Regions from separate parts of the Homo sapiens genome. Here regions 1 and 2 are each linked to region 3. The links are contacts of gene promoters, found by promoter capture Hi-C in human tissues and cell types (Jung and others, 2019). All regions are on one chromosome and are shown on one strand. Each heading gives the region's core, a stretch centred on a gene start or on the middle of the fragment in contact. The rest is flanking DNA. Distances are from core to core; before and after follow the strand shown. Region 1 overlaps DOK2 (docking protein 2). Region 2 overlaps XPO7 (exportin 7). Region 3 holds the start of NUDT18 (nudix hydrolase 18).

The links. The method cuts DNA at HindIII sites, captures the fragments that hold promoters and counts their contacts. A contact is called where the count stands out against the background at its distance.
Region 1: a contact is called between a fragment that was not itself captured here and the fragment with the promoter of NUDT18 in region 3, in 1 of the 25 tissues and cell types used here (spleen).
Region 2: a contact is called between a fragment that was not itself captured here and the fragment with the promoter of NUDT18 in region 3, in 1 of the 25 tissues and cell types used here (spleen).

Annotation. Positions count from the first base shown.
Region 1 is chr8:21,907,286-21,909,985 of GRCh38, reverse strand. DOK2 (docking protein 2) reads left to right here. Exons shown (of 5, transcript NM_003974.4): 5 at 55-1,113. The coding sequence ends at 675. Among named protein-coding and RNA genes, the nearest start is that of DOK2, 5.1 kb to the left of the region's middle. The HindIII fragment of the contact is 7,625 bases long and covers 1-2,700 here.
Region 2 is chr8:21,925,606-21,928,305 of GRCh38, reverse strand. All of the region lies in intron 1 of XPO7 (exportin 7), which reads right to left. Among named protein-coding and RNA genes, the nearest start is that of XPO7, 7.3 kb to the right of the region's middle. The HindIII fragment of the contact is 4,845 bases long and covers 1-2,700 here.
Region 3 is chr8:22,108,077-22,110,776 of GRCh38, reverse strand. NUDT18 (nudix hydrolase 18) reads left to right here and starts at 1,358. Exons shown (of 3, transcript NM_024815.4): 1 at 1,358-1,638; 2 at 2,431-2,644. The coding sequence starts at 1,477. RefSeq lists a silencer at 1,005-1,784 and an enhancer at 2,244-2,700. The HindIII fragment of the contact is 26,002 bases long and covers 1-2,700 here.

The DNA.
Region 1 (2,700 bases), core at 1-2,500, 200 kb after region 3:
AAATGCACCCCTGCCCTGTGGCCTGGCCAATAACCTGCTTTCTCCCTGGTCCAGGTAACCTTTTCCTTTGAGGCAGGCCGTCGCTGCGTCTCTGGAGAGGGCAACTTTGAGTTCGAAACCCGGCAAGGCAATGAGATCTTCTTGGCCCTGGAAGAGGCCATCTCTGCCCAGAAGAATGCTGCACCCGCTACACCCCAACCGCAGCCAGCCACAATCCCCGCGTCGCTGCCCCGGCCTGATAGCCCCTACTCTCGGCCGCATGACTCACTGCCGCCGCCTTCACCCACCACACCGGTGCCTGCTCCACGGCCTCGGGGCCAGGAGGGGGAGTATGCCGTGCCCTTCGATGCGGTGGCCCGTTCCTTGGGGAAGAACTTCAGGGGCATCTTGGCAGTCCCTCCTCAGCTCCTGGCCGACCCTCTGTACGACAGCATTGAGGAGACCCTGCCCCCTCGACCTGACCACATATACGATGAGCCCGAGGGAGTGGCTGCCCTGTCCCTCTATGACAGCCCGCAGGAGCCCCGGGGTGAGGCATGGAGGAGGCAGGCGACAGCTGACAGGGACCCTGCTGGCCTCCAGCATGTCCAGCCAGCCGGGCAGGATTTCTCTGCTTCTGGCTGGCAGCCAGGAACTGAGTATGACAATGTTGTACTAAAGAAAGGCCCAAAGTGACAGAGGCAGCAGAGGGATGGTCCACCGCCCCTTGGCTTCTGCTGGTGACTCCTCCTGGCCACTGCATCAGAAGAACCTCCTCTGCCCCTTCTGGAGCCCGAGGCCTGGCCTGTCTTCGTTGGGGCTGATAAATTGCCTCTCCCAGGGCCTGCTGGGTGAGTCACCATCCCAAAGCAGGAAGGGTGCCCTGGAGAGAACCACCCTCCTCCTACTCTTTTTCCACTTCCTCCTCTTTCTTTCCCCAGCTGAGGAGGAACCTGGGGCATTTAGGGCAGAGGACAAAAGGATGTCAGCAATTGCTTGGGCTGCTTGGCTATGCAAGCCTCCTGCCTGCTGATGGCCACTTCAGGGACAGCCTGGGCCCAGGCACCCAGGGGGATGGCGGCAGCTTCCTGCACCTTTCAGATTTCTTGGTGGCATTAAAGCATTTTCAGAACATTTCTGTGTGGCATGAATGCTGTGGGAGTGAAGTCTCCAACTGACCAACCTTGATCACATCCTCTCCCAGCTGCAAGATCCCCCTGGGGCCTAGGCTGAGCCCCAAGCATCTGCTCACAGAGGCCTCTAGAAGTCAGTCAGGGTGCCCTGGGAATAGTGTTCAAGTATGTCTCCCTTTTGCTGGGAGAAGGTCAATGTCAGAAAAATGGTGGGGGAAGCACGGGGGAGCGGGGGGCGAGCCAAAGTGCAAGGAAGGAAATAATTGGATTGATGGAGCCTCTTGTACACCAGGAGTGGGAGTCACCAGGTGTGTGGTCCTGGGCCCTTTCGCTTCCCTGAGATTTCTGCACATCTTCATAAAATGAGGGGGTTGCCCCATGTGGGCAAGGAGGAGCCATCCAGCTCTGTGATTCCCATTGGCTCTGGGTTCCTAGGTCCCCACACACCATTTCCCCACAGGTCAGCCTGTGTCCTTGTGCTTGCTCCTCTTATCAAAACCTGCTTTCCCAGTAGGGTGTGTCCATGGACTTCAGCTATCAACCCAGTCCGCCGACAGCATGGGCACTGTTTGTGGGAGGCTGTAGACTGCATGGCCTGTGAGAGACACACTGCCCAGAAGGGGATGAGATGAAACAAGGCACAGGTGTCTGTCACAGAGTGGGTGTGAGTGCCACAAGGGACCAGACAGGGCCATGAGTGCCAGAGAGGTAACTATTTGTTGGGAGCGCAAGAAAGGCTTCATATCAAAGGTACCATTTAAGGTGGGCATTTACGGGTGGGAAGGAGTTCCATGGAGATAAAGGGGGTGTGAAGGAGCATCTTGGATAGGAATGGGAGTGTAGGTGAAACCACGGGGAGGTACGGATGTGTTGCTTTCGGGACGGAGTTCTACGCTCAGAGTGCGGGTAAGGTGACACAATCTAGTTGGGAAGGCAGATTCTGACTGTATTAAGGGGAATTTGTACCTAATTAGAGGGAAAGGTGGAACGACTAAAGGCTTTTGAACAGGGAGTCCCATAAAAGCTGAGCTTTAGGGCAATAACCCGATAGCCCTGTGGAAGGTGGACTTGGGGTGGGAGGGGGTAGGTTGGGGCTGAATTGAAAAGGGGAAATTCTGCCAGGCACGGTGGCTTACACCTGCAATCCCAGCACTTTGGGAGGCCGAGGAGGGTTGATCATGAGGTCGGGAGTTCAACACCAGCCTGTCCAAGATGGTGAAACCCCATCTGTACTAAAAATACAAAAATTAGCTGGGCATGGTGGTGGGCACATGTAATCCCAGCTACTTGGGAGGCTGAGGCAGGAGAATTGCTTGCAGTGAGCTGAGATTGCACCACTGCACCCTACTGGGTGACAGAGCAGGACTCCGTCTCAAAAAAAAAAAAAAAAGAAAAAGAAAAAGAAAAAGAAAAGGGGAAATTCATCTGGGCACCGTGGCTCACACCTGTGATCCCAGCAACTTGGGAGGCCAAAGTGGGAGGATCACTTGAGCCCAGGAATTCGAAACCAACCTGGGCAACATAGTGATGAGACCGCGTCTCTATAAAAACAAACAAACCAACAAACAAACTTAGCCAGGTGTGGCGG
Region 2 (2,700 bases), core at 118-2,617, 180 kb after region 3:
TCATACAACGGAATACTTGGCAACAATGAAAAGTAACCAAGCACTCCTACTATGCAACAATGAGAATCAATCTCAGAGTTACTATGCTGAGTGAAAGAAGTCAGAAAACAAGAGTATACAGTAAGTCCATTATATAAAATTCCAGAAAATGCAAACTAATTTATAGTGACAGAAAGCAGAACAGGGTTGTGTGGGTCTGAGAGCTGAGGGAGGAACAGACTGCAAAGAGGAAATGTTCCATATTTTGATCCCGGAGTCACAGGTGTATGTATCTGTCAATTTGTACACTTTAAATGGATGCAGTTTACTGTACGAATAAAATTTTAGTAAAAAGGAAAGATTTTATTCCACTGGCAACAGATTTACACAACAGTAATCTCTATGAACCAAATATCCACTTTTGTGAGTGCTGTTTACATTTGAGGGGACGGGTATGGGAGGAATAGATAAGAAGTTGGGTCAGCCAGGTGCGGTGGCTCACGCCTGTAATCCCAGCACTTTGGGAGGCCGAGACAGGAGGATCACCTGAGGTCGGGAGCTCAAGACCAGTCGGACCAACATGGAGAAACTCCGTCTCTACTAAAAATACAAAATTAGCTGGGCGTGGTGGTGCATGCCTGTAATCCCAGCTACTTGGGAGGCTGAGGCAGGAGAACTGCTTGAACCCGGGAGGCAGAGGTTGCCGTGAGCCGAGATTGCGCCACTGCACTCCAGCCTGGGCAACAAGAGCAAAACTCCATCTTAAGAAAAAAAAAAAAAAAAAAAAAGGTTGGTTTTTTTTAAGTCTCACCCTATCAATGCTATCAATGTTAACACGAAATGTGCCTTTGGGAACCTCTAGGGTACATTAACAGTAACCTAAACCAAACAGCTCTGAATGGACAGGTTTTAGGAATTCTGTGAAATTAAAACTTCTTGCTCACAACATTCTGCTCTCCCTGTATGGAGTGTGGCTAACTGTAGAATTCCAAGAACTAGTAAATAATCCTTTACATTACAACAAATTTTCATTTGTAACACCTGTGGGATAATGTCCTTATTTTATTTGAATTTAATTTAAATTAATTAATTAATTTTTTTTAAAAGACTTGGGGTCTTGCTATGTTACCCAGGCTGGACTTGAACTCCTGTACCCAAGTGATCCTCCCAGCTTAGCCTCCCCCCCAGTAGCTGGGACTACAAGCATGTGTGCCCCTGCCTGGCCTGTCCTTAAATACTCCCTGTTGCTCAGGTTCAATTCACCTAAAAACAATTTAATTTGGTTTTATGAAGGCCTGAAGAAAGTTGCTCAGTTCTGGAACATTATCAGTTCAAAATATTAAGACTAAGGAAAACAAGGTCACATTTTCCAGTAAGTTTTATTTAATCTTTAAAATTCTTGGGTATGCCCCAGGCTAGTTTTTGACAAGACCTCGCAGGGATCCTTAGATGGGTCAATGACAAGCTGAAGACAAAAATATCACCTACTAACACGAACATTACATTCTAAATAATTTGTGGCTATATATTGGGCAAAATTTAGATTTTTTTTCAACTGAGATGTATAGATTTTATCAATACATCAACAGATGTATTGATATGTGAAATATACATCAGGTTTCCCAGATCTTTTTCAGAGCAAACTTTATGTTTCAAGTTCTTACAGTTAAGTTAAATTTCATGACTAATTTTAGACAACGTCTTTTTGGAAGACAGAAGTAAAGCACTGAAGTTCAGGAGTTAGCAGAGGTGAATGAGGTTAAAAAAAAAACAAGCTTTGAAATAATTTTTGCCAAACTCATGACATATGCTTTCAAAACTTTGCAAACAATTTTAAATAGAATTGGAAAAAATCCTAAGAAAACCCTTCATTTCCCTTTTCTAGCCTTAAATACACCCCTTTAAACCATAAATTGACTCAAACTTTAGGGCAAATGTCTAGCAAAACTCTCAGTTCTTTCTGAGACTGCACATTGTAAATATCATAATTTCTTATCATGCAAAGTACCAATGAGATCAGCATGTGTCCAACTCAAGTTCATATATTTAAAAGCTAAAAGGCCACTACAGTTATAAGATTACAATTTCCTGAAGTAGTACAAGGGATATTTTAATAATCTGCTTGTTTTCAGAGGAACATTGTTTTCCAGAGGAAAATATTTTGATTTTTTTTTTCATCTAACTAATGTTTTTCTAAGAGAGGTTTAAAACCCAGGGGCTTTTAAGTGAGAATCATTTCTCAGCCTACCGGCATCAACATTTGACTAATAATGTTAATTTCTTGTCCCATAAGAAATATCTTTCACTGCTTATTGTCCAACTAAGAGACCTCTTTCGTTACTGTTTGGGGCATAAGAGAGCTCAATTTGTGAGAAGTGCTACAGATGACTAGATCTTACAGAAAAAAACTCTGGGAGTTTAAGAAATTAGGCGTAAAGAAGAGGAAGATATATTTAAGATAGATAAAATGGAAATGTTGGTTTGAGCATAAATATTTTAAGGAATTTTACAAACATGTACATATGAATTGAGAACACGGTGCTATATTGGGGAGAGAATACAAGGATGACAACTGGAAATCCCATCCAGAATGCTTGAAGTACAAGGGACTTCACAGATCACTTAATCCAGGCTCAGAGACCAAACGAGTTTCCCAATTAAATGGCATAACACTATAAAAGGCTTAGCATGGTGCCTGGCATATAACAGACACTCAGTTAA
Region 3 (2,700 bases), core at 109-2,608:
AACAAAAGTCACATTTCATGAGGGCAGGCCTTGCGTGTGGTAGCAAGAGCTATGGTGGAGAGGGACCACCCCTGAGGGTTGGTGGGCTGCCTGGGGACGGTGCCCAGTGCTGGACAATCCACACAGCTCCTCTCCAATTGTTGTGGCTTCCCAACACCCCTGTAAAAGAAGAATTGCTATGATCCTGCTCTACAAATAAGAAAATTGAGGCCCACAGCTCACCCAGGAGCACAGAGCAAGCCAGTCAGCAGTGGCTGGCCATCTGGCTGCAGGTCCTGAGCTTTGTCCACACCACCAAGCCACAGTCTCCCTAGCAGGGAGGCGCACAAAACTATCAGAGGCAGAGGAAAGGGGTGGCCTCTGCCAGGTGAGGAGCCAGACGGCCTGCTTCGCAGATCCCTTCCAGCTGGCTTTGCCTTCCAGTGCTGAGGTGGGGTGAAGGAGGAAAGGCCGAGCTGGGAGAGGAGCAGGCGCTCGCCACAACCACCCCCACCCTGCTCTCCACGCGCCAGGTCCTGCACGCTGGGTGGGAGGGTGACGACAAGGATGGAGGAGCAGGGCCCCACCCCCGCCCTCCCAGGGCGCACCATCTGCAGCAGAGAGGGCCTTGAGCTGCGTGGGAAATGCGGTAGGCAGAGGGACACTGATGAGGGTGGGCCGGCTGACGGCAGCCTTCTCTCAGCCCCGGACCCCTCCCGCCATCCCCAGCCCTGCCCCCTCCCTCCTTCCAGCGCCTGTCACTCTTCCTGCCCAAACCAAGCATTTAGCACTTAGCCTCGAACCCTCAGCTGACTCCTCATCTAGGACTCCGTCCATCTCTCCAACTATTGCAGAATCTCCTTCAAGGCAGGGGTTTATGTCCCCCACCCCACGGGCCATGTGACATTTATAACTCTTTGGTGGAATGAGAAGAAAGGTATTTGGGATATGATCAACTCCGGCAATGCCATTGTGTGTTTACGGCAACAGCGGGACAGTGGTTCCAGGGGGCGGCCCCGGGCCTCCGTGACGTCACCGGATTGTCGCGTCACCGTCGCCTACCCCGGCGGCGCAACGCGCCCTGCAGGAAAGATGACGTCACCGTCGGAGCTCCTGCAGACCAGTGCGCGCTCGGGGAGTTGGCGAGCGGGTGGCGGCTGGGAGACGTCCCGAGCGCACGGGACTGACAGGCGGCAGAAGCCGGGCGGGGTCCGCTGGGCTCCGGACCCGTGCCCCCCCAGTTCCAGGGCGGCCCCGGGCGGCCCCGCCCCCTCGGTGAATGCCGCGGGCCGGCCAATCCGGGCAGGCCGCGGCGCCGCGCAGCCTATCAGCGGCCAGAGCTCGCGTGCGCTTCCGCGTTCGCGTGCGCTTCCGCGTTCTCGTGAGCTCCCGGCCCGCTGCCGCAGGGACTGGGAGCGGGCTCCGCAGCGCACTCTAGCCCGCGGCTCGGCTCAGTCGGTCTGCGAGGATCCGGCCCGCCGCCCCCCGGGGGACCCGATGGCCTCGGAGGGCCTGGCGGGGGCGCTGGCTTCCGTGCTGGCTGGCCAGGGGTCCAGCGTGCACAGCTGCGACTCGGCGCCGGCCGGGGAGCCGCCGGCGCCCGTGCGGCTGCGGAAGAACGTGTGCTACGTGGTGCTGGCCGTGTTCCTCAGCGAGCAGGTGAGCGGCCGCCCCCGGGCCCGCCGGGCCTCGGGAGCGCGCAGCCAGCCCAGGTGGGGACAGAAGACCCAACGGCCACAGCCAGCGCTGCCGCGTGCGTGGCGCTTCCCAGTTTTGCAAAGCACTCCCACTCCCACTCGCATCTGTGTCCTGCGTTCGTCCCGATATGCAGAAGAGGAAACTGAGGCCCGGGGCCTGTTTGTCTCATCCGACTAGGCCTCATTCCTTCCCTTCCCCAGAGTCTAGCGGAGTGCCCAGGGCCCCTCAGATAGCAGTGGCTCAATCCCGGCTTACCTTCAGGCCTTTGGTGCTGATGCCTGTAGTGGGCGATGTAATGACAACTAGACGGGGCCAGGGCCATAGGGCGGGGTTGTACAGAGCGGAGGTGGGGGTCGTGTTTCAAGCCAGACCCCAGTGTGAGGACCCATCACAGTTTGTAAACCACGCCGTTGGAGGCGAGAGATACACAGTGGCAGGTACAGACGCAAATCAATCCAAGACAGACAGACACATGGTGACCCTCACTCTGGGGCCTCATCTCCAGCCCCTGAAGCGGCTTCCAGGAATCTCAGCCCTTCCTGAAATGGAAGTCTTCCTAAATCCAGAGAGAGACGAATTGCAGAGAGGAGAGGGCTGCAGCCCCCAGCGACACGAGGGCAGGTCTCCTGGAGCGCTAGCTGGGTTGAGAGTGTCCACCCAGAGGGGAGTCTTGGGCGACTGTGTTTGAGATGCCCCCTGGTCCCGGGGCGAGGGAAGGCTGTGGCAGGAAGTGAGGATCCTCTCTCCTCTCAGGATGAGGTGCTACTGATCCAGGAGGCCAAGAGGGAGTGCCGGGGGTCGTGGTACCTGCCTGCGGGGAGAATGGAGCCAGGGGAGACCATCGTGGAGGCGCTGCAGCGGGAGGTGAAGGAGGAGGCGGGGCTGCACTGTGAGCCCGAGACACTGCTGTCCGTGGAGGAGCGGGGCCCCTCCTGGGTCCGCTTCGTGTTCCTCGCTCGCCCCACAGGTATGGCCCACCTGGAGGCAGTGTGAACAGGGCCAGTTGACACCTTTCCCCCAGCT